Regions from separate parts of the Homo sapiens genome. Here region 1 is linked to region 2. The links are contacts of gene promoters, found by promoter capture Hi-C in human tissues and cell types (Jung and others, 2019). All regions are on one chromosome and are shown on one strand. Each heading gives the region's core, a stretch centred on a gene start or on the middle of the fragment in contact. The rest is flanking DNA. Distances are from core to core; before and after follow the strand shown. Region 1 has its middle 14 kb from the start of SLC38A5. Region 2 holds the start of ELK1 (ETS transcription factor ELK1).

Evidence for each region. Contacts are between HindIII fragments. The study calls those that stand out against the background at their distance.
Region 1: a contact is called between a fragment that was not itself captured here and the fragment with the promoter of ELK1 in region 2, in 1 of the 25 tissues and cell types used here (aorta).

What each region holds. Positions count from the first base shown.
Region 1 is chrX:48,454,257-48,458,394 of GRCh38, reverse strand. No RefSeq gene overlaps it. Among named protein-coding and RNA genes, the nearest start is that of SLC38A5, 14 kb to the left of the region's middle. The HindIII fragment of the contact is 4,106 bases long and covers 757-4,138 here.
Region 2 is chrX:47,648,889-47,653,065 of GRCh38, reverse strand. ELK1 (ETS transcription factor ELK1) reads left to right here and starts at 2,503. Exons shown (of 7, transcript NM_001114123.3): 1 at 2,503-2,643; 2 at 3,040-3,145. UXT (ubiquitously expressed prefoldin like chaperone) reads left to right here. Exons shown (of 7, transcript NM_004182.4): 6 at 922-985; 7 at 1,171-1,270. The coding sequence ends at 1,224. RefSeq lists a silencer at 2,319-2,728 and a cis regulatory region at 2,060-3,040. The HindIII fragment of the contact is 8,740 bases long and covers 1-4,177 here.

The DNA of each region.
Region 1 (4,138 bases), core at 1,560-4,059, 810 kb before region 2:
AATATTTCACCCACTTGGCCAGGAGCAGTGACTCACGCCTGTAATCCCAGCACTTTGGGAGGTTGAGGCCGGCGGATCACTTGAAATCACAAGTTTGAGACCAGCCTGGCCACCATGGCAAAACCCCGTCTCTACTAAAAAATACTAAAATTAACTGGGTGTGGTGGTGCACGCTATAGTCCCAGCTACTTGGGAGGCTAAGGCGGGAGAATCGCTTGAACCCAGGAGGCGGAGGTTGCAGTGAGCCGAGATTGTGCCACTGTACTCCAGCCTGGGCGACAGAGTGAGACTCCATCTCACACACAGAAAAAGACTTCACTCATTCACTCGGTAAACATCTCCTGAAAGCCTACTGGGTGCCAGGCACTATTCTAGGTGCTGGGGATATAGCAGTGAACCAAGCAGACAATAGTGCCCTGGAGTTGATGTTCTGACACACGAGTGGGCAAATCCATCCTGCTGCCTATTTTGGTATGGCCCTTGAACTAAGACTGGCTTTCATATTTCTAAATGATTGAAAAAAGGTGGATCCAGCATGGTGGCTTATGCCTGTAATCACCAGCACTTTGGGAGTCTGAGGCAGGAGGATCATTTGAGAGCAGCCTGGGCAACACGGCAAGACCCCATCTCTACAAAAAATATTAAAAGAAATAGCCGGGTGTGATAGTGCAAGCCTATAGTCCCAGCTACTTGGGAGACTGAGGTGGGAGGATCGCTTCAGCCCGGGAGATTGAGGGTGCAGTGAGCTATGATCACGCCACTGCACTCTAGCCTGAGTGACAGAGTGAGACCCTGTCTCAAAAAGAAAAGGGGCTGGGTGTGGTGGCTCATGCCTGTAATCCTAGCACTTTGGGAGGCCGACGCGGGCAGATCACCTGAGGTAAGGAGTTCTAGACCAGCCTGGCCAACGTGGTGAAACCCCGTTTCTACTAAAAATACAAAAATCAGCCAGGCATGGTGGCACGCGCCTGTAATCCCAGCTACTCAGGAGGCTGAGGCAGGAGAATCGCTTGAACTTGGGAGTCAGAGGTTGCAGTGAGCCAAGATCTCACCACTGCACTCCAGCCTCTGTCTCAAAAAAAAGAAAAGAAAATGAAAAAATATTATTAAAAGAAATAATATTCTGTGACACTTGGAAATTATGTGAAATTCAAATTTCAGTGTCTAAATCATTTACATATCAATTTCAGTGTCTAAATTATTTACATATCATTTACAGTGTCTTCTTCATTTACATATTGTTTGTGGCTTTCTCGTGCAGAGCTGAGGATTTGCAACAGAGACCATATGGCCTGCAAAGCCTGAGCTATTAACTCTCTGGCCCTTTTCAGAAAATGTTAGCTGACCTCTGACCTAACAAAGAGAATAAAAGAGAAATCATTCCTCATAAAGATGGTGCAATGAAGAAAATGAGCGATGTGAGAGTGGTGTGGGGAGGTGGTGGGTGAGGAGGCATTCAGCGAGACTTCACTAAGGAGGGGGCAATGAATTTGGTCCTAGGTTGGCTGAAAGGAGCAAGCCTCATGGTTATTTTGGCAAAGGGTGTTCCAGGCAGAGGGAGCAACAGGTGCAAGGGCCCCGAGGTAGGAACGAGCATGGCTGGTCCAAGCAAGAGCAAGGAGAAGCTAGCATGAGTATGTGAGTGCCATTTTCACCACAGCCTTGTCAACAGCCTGAGCAATGCAACAGATTTTTGTCAACCTCATAGAAAAAATGGTATTGCCATTACACTTCACATACGTGTGTGTGTGTGTGTGTGTGTGTGTGTGTGTGTATTTCTAATTCTTTAATTTTTAATTTTTAACTGTTTTTGAGACAGGGTCTTGCTCTGTCATCCAGGCTGGAGTGCAGTGGTGCCATCACGGCTCACTGAAGCTTTAGCCTCCCAGGCTCAAGCTATCCTCCTGCCTCAGCCTTCTGAGTAGCTGGGACTACAGGCATGCGCCACTATGCCTGGATAATTTTTAAAATTTTCAGTAGAAATGAGATCTCTCTATGTTGCCTAGGCTGGTCTCAAACTCTTGGGCTCAAGTGATCCTCCCACCTTGGCCTCCCAAAGTGCTCGGATTACAGGCATGAGCCGTATTTATGAAATAAGGTTTTTTTTTTTTTTTTTTGGCAGGGTTTCACTGTCATCCAGCCTGGAGTACAGTAGTGAGATCACAGCTCACTGCAACCTCAACTTCCCGGGTTCAAGTGATTCTCTTACCTCAGCCTCCCAAGTAGCTGGGACCACAGGCATATGCCACCACACCCGGCTTATTTTATTTTATTTTATTTTATTTTATTTTATTTTTTAGATGAAGTCTTGCTCTTGTCTCCCAGGCTGGAGTGCAATGGCACGATCTCGGATCAGTGCAACCTCTGTTCCCCGGGTTCAAGTGATTCTCTTGCCTCAGCCTCCCGAGTAGCTGGGACTACAGATGTGTGCCACCACACCTGGCTAATTTTTTGTATTTTTAGTAGAAACGGGGTTTCACCATGTTAGTCAGGATGGTCTCGATCTCCCGACCTCGTGATCCACCTCCCGACCTCGTGATCCGCCTGCCTCAGCCTCCCAAAGTGCTAGGATTACAGGTGTGAGCCACTGCGCCCGGCCTTTTTTGTATTTTTTTGTAGAGACGGGGTCTCACCATGTTGCCCAAGCTGGTCTCGAATTCCTGGGCTCAAGTGATCCACCCATCTCGGCCTCCCAAATTGCTGAGATTATAGGCATGAAGCACCGCACCCAGCCTGAAGGAAGCTTTTAGATGTTTGAGAGACATTTGCTTATCCTCCCAGATAATTTTTACGCATTTATAAGCTACTACACATATATATTATTTCCCTGCTTCTATTTACAAATAGGGCAGTTGTCTGTAGTTGATTAATACTATATGCTCCTTGTTTCACTGTTCTTTATCCCTTACTGCCACTAAACTTAAGCTCAACAAGCCATTCTTTTTGAGAATAACGGTAGCCTGAAATTCCAGCACCTGGCCTTCAAACTGCAAGTCTTGGCTGGGCACGATGACTCATGCTTGTAATCCCAGCACTTTGGGAGGCCAAGGCAAGAGGATGACTTGAGGCCAGGAATTTGAGACCAACCTGGGCAACATAATGAGATCCTGTCCCTAAGTTTTTTTTTTAATTAGCTGGGCATGGTGGTGTGCACCTGCAGTCTCAGCTACTCAGGGAGGCTGGGGTGGGAGAATTGCTTGAACTAAGGAGTTCAAGGCTGCAGTGAGCTGGATTGGACCATTGCACTCCAGCCTGGGCAACAGAGTGAGACCTTGTTTCAAAAACAAAAAAAAAAAACAAAAAAAACAAACAACAACAACAACAACCCCCCCCCACCAGAAACCTCATACCCATTAATAGTAACTCCCCACTCCGCCCAGCCTTTGGGAACCATGAATCTACTTTCTGTCCCTACGGATTTGCCTATTCTTGGCATTCATATAAGTGGAATCATACACTGTGGTCTTTTGTGTCTGGCTTCTTTCACTTAGCATATTTTCAAGGTTTATGCATGCCACAGCATGTATCAGTACTTCATTAAATCTTCCGATCCATGAAAAATGGGCTATCTTTCCATTTATTTAGGTCTTTAATTTCCTTCAGCAATGTTTTGTAGTTTTCAGTGCAGAAGTCTTACACTTCCTTGGGATGCAAGTCCTACTTAGGGGATTTTAGTAGTCTTTTGGTGCTGCTATGATAGAATACCTCAGACTGGGTAATTTGTATAGAACAGACATTTATTTTCTCACAGTTCTGGAGGCTGGAAAGTCCAAGATCAAGGCACCAGCATCTGGTCAGCGCTTTTTGCTGCATTCTCATATGGCAGAAGGCAGAAGGACATGAGAGAAGCAACTCCCTCCATCTCATTTATAAGGACACCTAATCTCATTAGGGAGAACCCCTCATGGCCTAGTCACTTCTTAAAGACCCTATCTCTTAATACTGTCACATTGACAACACCTGAGTTTTGGAGGGGACACATTCAGACCATACTAGGGATTAAAAATAACATCTTAATTTTTAGCAATCTAGTTCAGATTGATACCAACTTAATTTCAATACTATACAAAACATTGCTCTTATATAGCTTTGTCCACTCCCTTTACTGCCACTAAACTTAAGCTCAACAAACCATTCT
Region 2 (4,177 bases), core at 1,254-3,753:
TCAAACAGCTCTTTGTTGCCTCTTGTCCTTTTTGTGGAAAAGGCCTTCCTACTGCTTAACCATTAGGCATTCTTCGATTCCTTCTCATTCTTCATTCTTGAGAAAGGCCTTCCTTGACCCTTTATATCAATTAGGATTCTTTTGGGCGAGATCTGATCCAAACTGGCTTAGAGAAAAGGAGTCAACTGACTGGTTCATGTAATTCAACCTCCTTCCTCTGCTGCAACCTTCCCTTGGCTCCCATCTCACTTAAGGTCAAAGCCAGGGTCCTTACCATGGCCTTGTAGGCTTCACACAGTTTGTCTCCCTCATTACCTCTCTGACCTCACCTCTTACATTCCCCCTTCACTTATTCTTCTCCAGCCAGAGTGGCCTCTTTGCTGCACCTCAAACATGCCAGGCACACTCCCACCTCAGTGCCTTTGTGTTTGCTGCCCCTTGTGTGTGGAACACATCCTCCATATAGCCACACTACTCAAAATTCACTGTCTTTAAGTCTTTACTCAAATGCTTCTCCGTGAAGCCATCCCTGAGCCCTCTTTAAAATTGCAGCCCCCCACTCCTGTACTCCTTATTGTCTCTCATTTTTAATTTTTGTTATTGTAGTTAGAACCATCTGACACATAGCTTTTATTCCATTGGTTTTTTGTTATGTCTTTCTTTACAAGAATTTGAAGTCCATCAGGCCGGGAGTTTTGTTTGTTGTGTTTGCTGCTATCTCCCAGTGCCTAAAATTGCCTGGCATACAGTAGGCATTTAATAATCTTTGAATCAGTGAAAACCAGATGGTGGCTTGGCATTTCCACATAGGAATGAGCCAGGTGGAAATCATCCAGGATATAAGTAGATCTTGAAGTGATAAGGAAGGGTCATCATAATCATGTGGGGCCCATTTTGCCCTTTCTTGTTTCTTTTCTCTAGGCTCAGCAACAGCCTCACCAAGGACTCCATGAATATCAAAGCCCATATCCACATGTTGCTAGAGGTGAGAGCAGCTCACCCCACTACCAGACTCTGTGTTTAGGGTGGTGACCTGAAGAAGGAAGAGAGCGAAAGAAGGGAAGGACCATCTTTCCCTCTAAACTGGAGTCAAGGGAGGGAGGTCAGAGCAAGCCTGGGGGCGTAACCCAGACCCAGTCTTTGTTCAATCTCTTCTGTCCTCTTTTTCAGGGGCTTAGAGAACTACAAGGCCTGCAGAATTTCCCAGAGAAGCCTCACCATTGACTTCTTCCCCCCATCCTCAGACATTAAAGAGCCTGAATGCCTTTGAGTCACATGGCCCTTCTTTTTCCCCATAAACCCTGCTAGTTGCCACGGGGGCCTGTTCCTAGGGCACAAAGTTACTGAGAGACCCAGAGATCCAGTCTCTCTGTGGAACCTCCAAAATGCCCCAGCAGTCCTGCCTCCAGCCTGTTGCCTGGCAGTATTTGCCAGTTGACCTTATGCACTGCCCTCTCTTCTGTCATCTTGGCAACCTGGGCCCCCCACCTCACCCTTTCTTCCATTCCTTTTCCTAGACGCCACCCTTTGAATTGCCATAGAGAATGGGCCAATTCATGGTGGAGGTTTGTTCATTCCCACAACAATCAAAGGGCCCTAAGGTTTACGCTTTCACACACCCAATCATTCCCCAGGTACCCCAAATTACACCCAAACCCTAACTCAGCCCTACCTTGTCTTAGCCCCTGCTTGTAAGTGTTCCAGCTTCCAATGGGCACAGACCTGGATCCCGCTCTCCCTAGTCGGGCCCCTATTCTAGGTTGAGTCCAGCCACCGCCAATCAATGCAGAGCCAGGTTCCTCCCCTTTTTAACTCTGGCCGCAGTTCAACCCTGCCCTCTGAAAGCATTTCGTTTCTGCCACTCAATGCTCTTTCGTGTGCCTGACAGCCATCCTGCCCTCCTACCTCCGCTGTGTTCTAAATTCGTCTTTACCCAGCTCTATGGTCTTGTCTAACCGTAGAGCTGCCCTGCCCGCCTACGCGGAGCCCAGTCCGACCCACTCCCGCCGGCTGCTACGCCCATTTCTATACAAGCCCTGCTTCCGCTGAGCAGCATGGCGTGCGACACCGCCCCCTTGGTGTTTTGGCAGGGGTCTAGAAGTCCCTCGTCCGCCAATCAGAGAAAAACAGGGCCACCCACCCCCGTCCTTGGGGGCTGTCTTCCATCAATCCCATGTAAGCCAATCAGTGTGAGGCAGACCCCCGCCCCCCCGACACAGGCCCCGAGCCTTTTCAGTTGCTCACAGTCCGTCAGTCCTTGAGCCAATCGGCGTGGAGCACCGTGAAGGCCGAACGCGCCTCCTCGGGACTCCAGGGGCCGTGAGCGTTCCATCATTTCCCCTTACGCCAATCACGGCACAGCTCTGTAGGGAAGGGCCCGTCCCCCAACCCCTCGAGGCCTTGCGGCCGATTAATAGCGCTTTGGCCAATCAGCGAGCGGCGGGACATTGGGCTCCTCCTCCTCGGGCCCACGTGAGCTGTAGGGAAACGCAGGGGCGGCTTCTAGGTGCTGCCGCCGCCACCGCCACCACCACCTCCACCGCCGCCTCGGAACCCAGGCCTGGGGGGCGGTGGGGCCGCGTATGGAGCCCCCGCCCCCCGGAGCTGCCAACATTGCCAACGCCACCGCCACGCTACACACAGGTGAGCTCTGGGCCTGGAGGGTGGAGGGCCCAGTCCGTGACCCCACGTATCCTTCCCGCCCCCGCGCAGAGGATGTGGCTTGGCCGGTGGCCTGCTGGTGTTCGACTCCCCGCCGCCACCACCACGGCTGGTGGACCTGCGTGTGGCATTGCTCAAGCCCTTCGTCCCTTATAGTGGATCTGACCGTGGCCTAACCTCCCCCTCCCGTTGTATAATGGATCGGTCTGCGTGCTTATGTTTTTCCCCACGCCAACTTAGGGTGGACTCGTCCATAGGCTTTCCCCCTACCCCTACCCCCACCCGCCCCCCACCCACCCCCACTTATAGGGAGCTAGCCTGTGACAGTGTTCAGCCCCCTTAATAGTAGGTGTATCTGAGTGTTTGGATTTCTCCTAGCCTCAACTTTCAGGAGACCCGTCCGTGGCCTTATTTATTCCACCCTTCCTGTACATCGTAGCGAATCAATCCGTGGCGCCGCACTCCTCCGCATCCCTCTTTAACAGTGAGTCTACCTGAGTTTGTATTCCTGCCTCCTCCAGTCCCCCAATGCATCAGTCCATGGCTTTTTTCAAAACCACCCCCCCCCCCCACCACCACCACCACCATTTTATAGTGGATCAGTCTTCATGTTTGGATTCACGTCCCTTTAGCTATCAGTCCATTGCCCTGTCTCCTCTTTTTCGTAGACTGTCGCTCTAGCGCTTGGGGTTCTCTCCTTTTTAATAGTGGGTTAGTTTAGTGCTTTACATCTCCCTATTTTCAGTAGCTCAGTCCATAGCCTTTTCCCTCTCTGCTTTGAATCAGTCTGTGTGATGGCTTTTCTCTCCTCTCACTGTGGTGCAGGAGTCTGTAAGGTTTTCTGCTCCCCTTCCCCTCAGACGATGAGCCTCATCACCCCTCCCTTTGCAGTGGATCTGTTCATTGGCCTTCCTCCCCCACACCCCTGTATGCTTGCACAGTCCCCCGCATACCCTCCCGTGAGTCCAGTGCTTTGTAATTGGGGGAAGATCGGCCGTGTACTTTCAATTTCCTTCTCTTTTTTTTTCCCTTCCCAGAAGAGAACGTGCTGATCCTCTTTTCCTTGTGATGGAGCACTGTACGGCCTTCCCTGTCCTCCACCTCTTAATAGTGGGTCAGCCTGGTCACACTCGTAACCACAAAGACGTTCTGCCTCACTACAATAAGTGAATACATTAGCGCCAGTGATGATAGTAATGCCAATAGGAGCTAGCGTTTATTGAGCACCTGCCGTATATCAGGCAGAGTGTTTCATATGAATGAGTTCCTTTAATCCTCACCACAACCCCATGAGATAGGTAGTGAGGGAATTGGGCCATAGGGAGGTTAAATTCCTTACTCAAAGGTGGCCCAGGAAGTACTCAGGACACAGGATAATTTTTGAGGCTCCCCTCTTAGATCTCATCCCACCCCACGTGAGGCCTCAGTCCTTAAAAACCAAATTAGTTCTCACCTCCAAGCTTTTGTTCTTGCTGTTCCCTCTGCCTGCAGAGCAGTCTTCATTCCTCACCTTCTC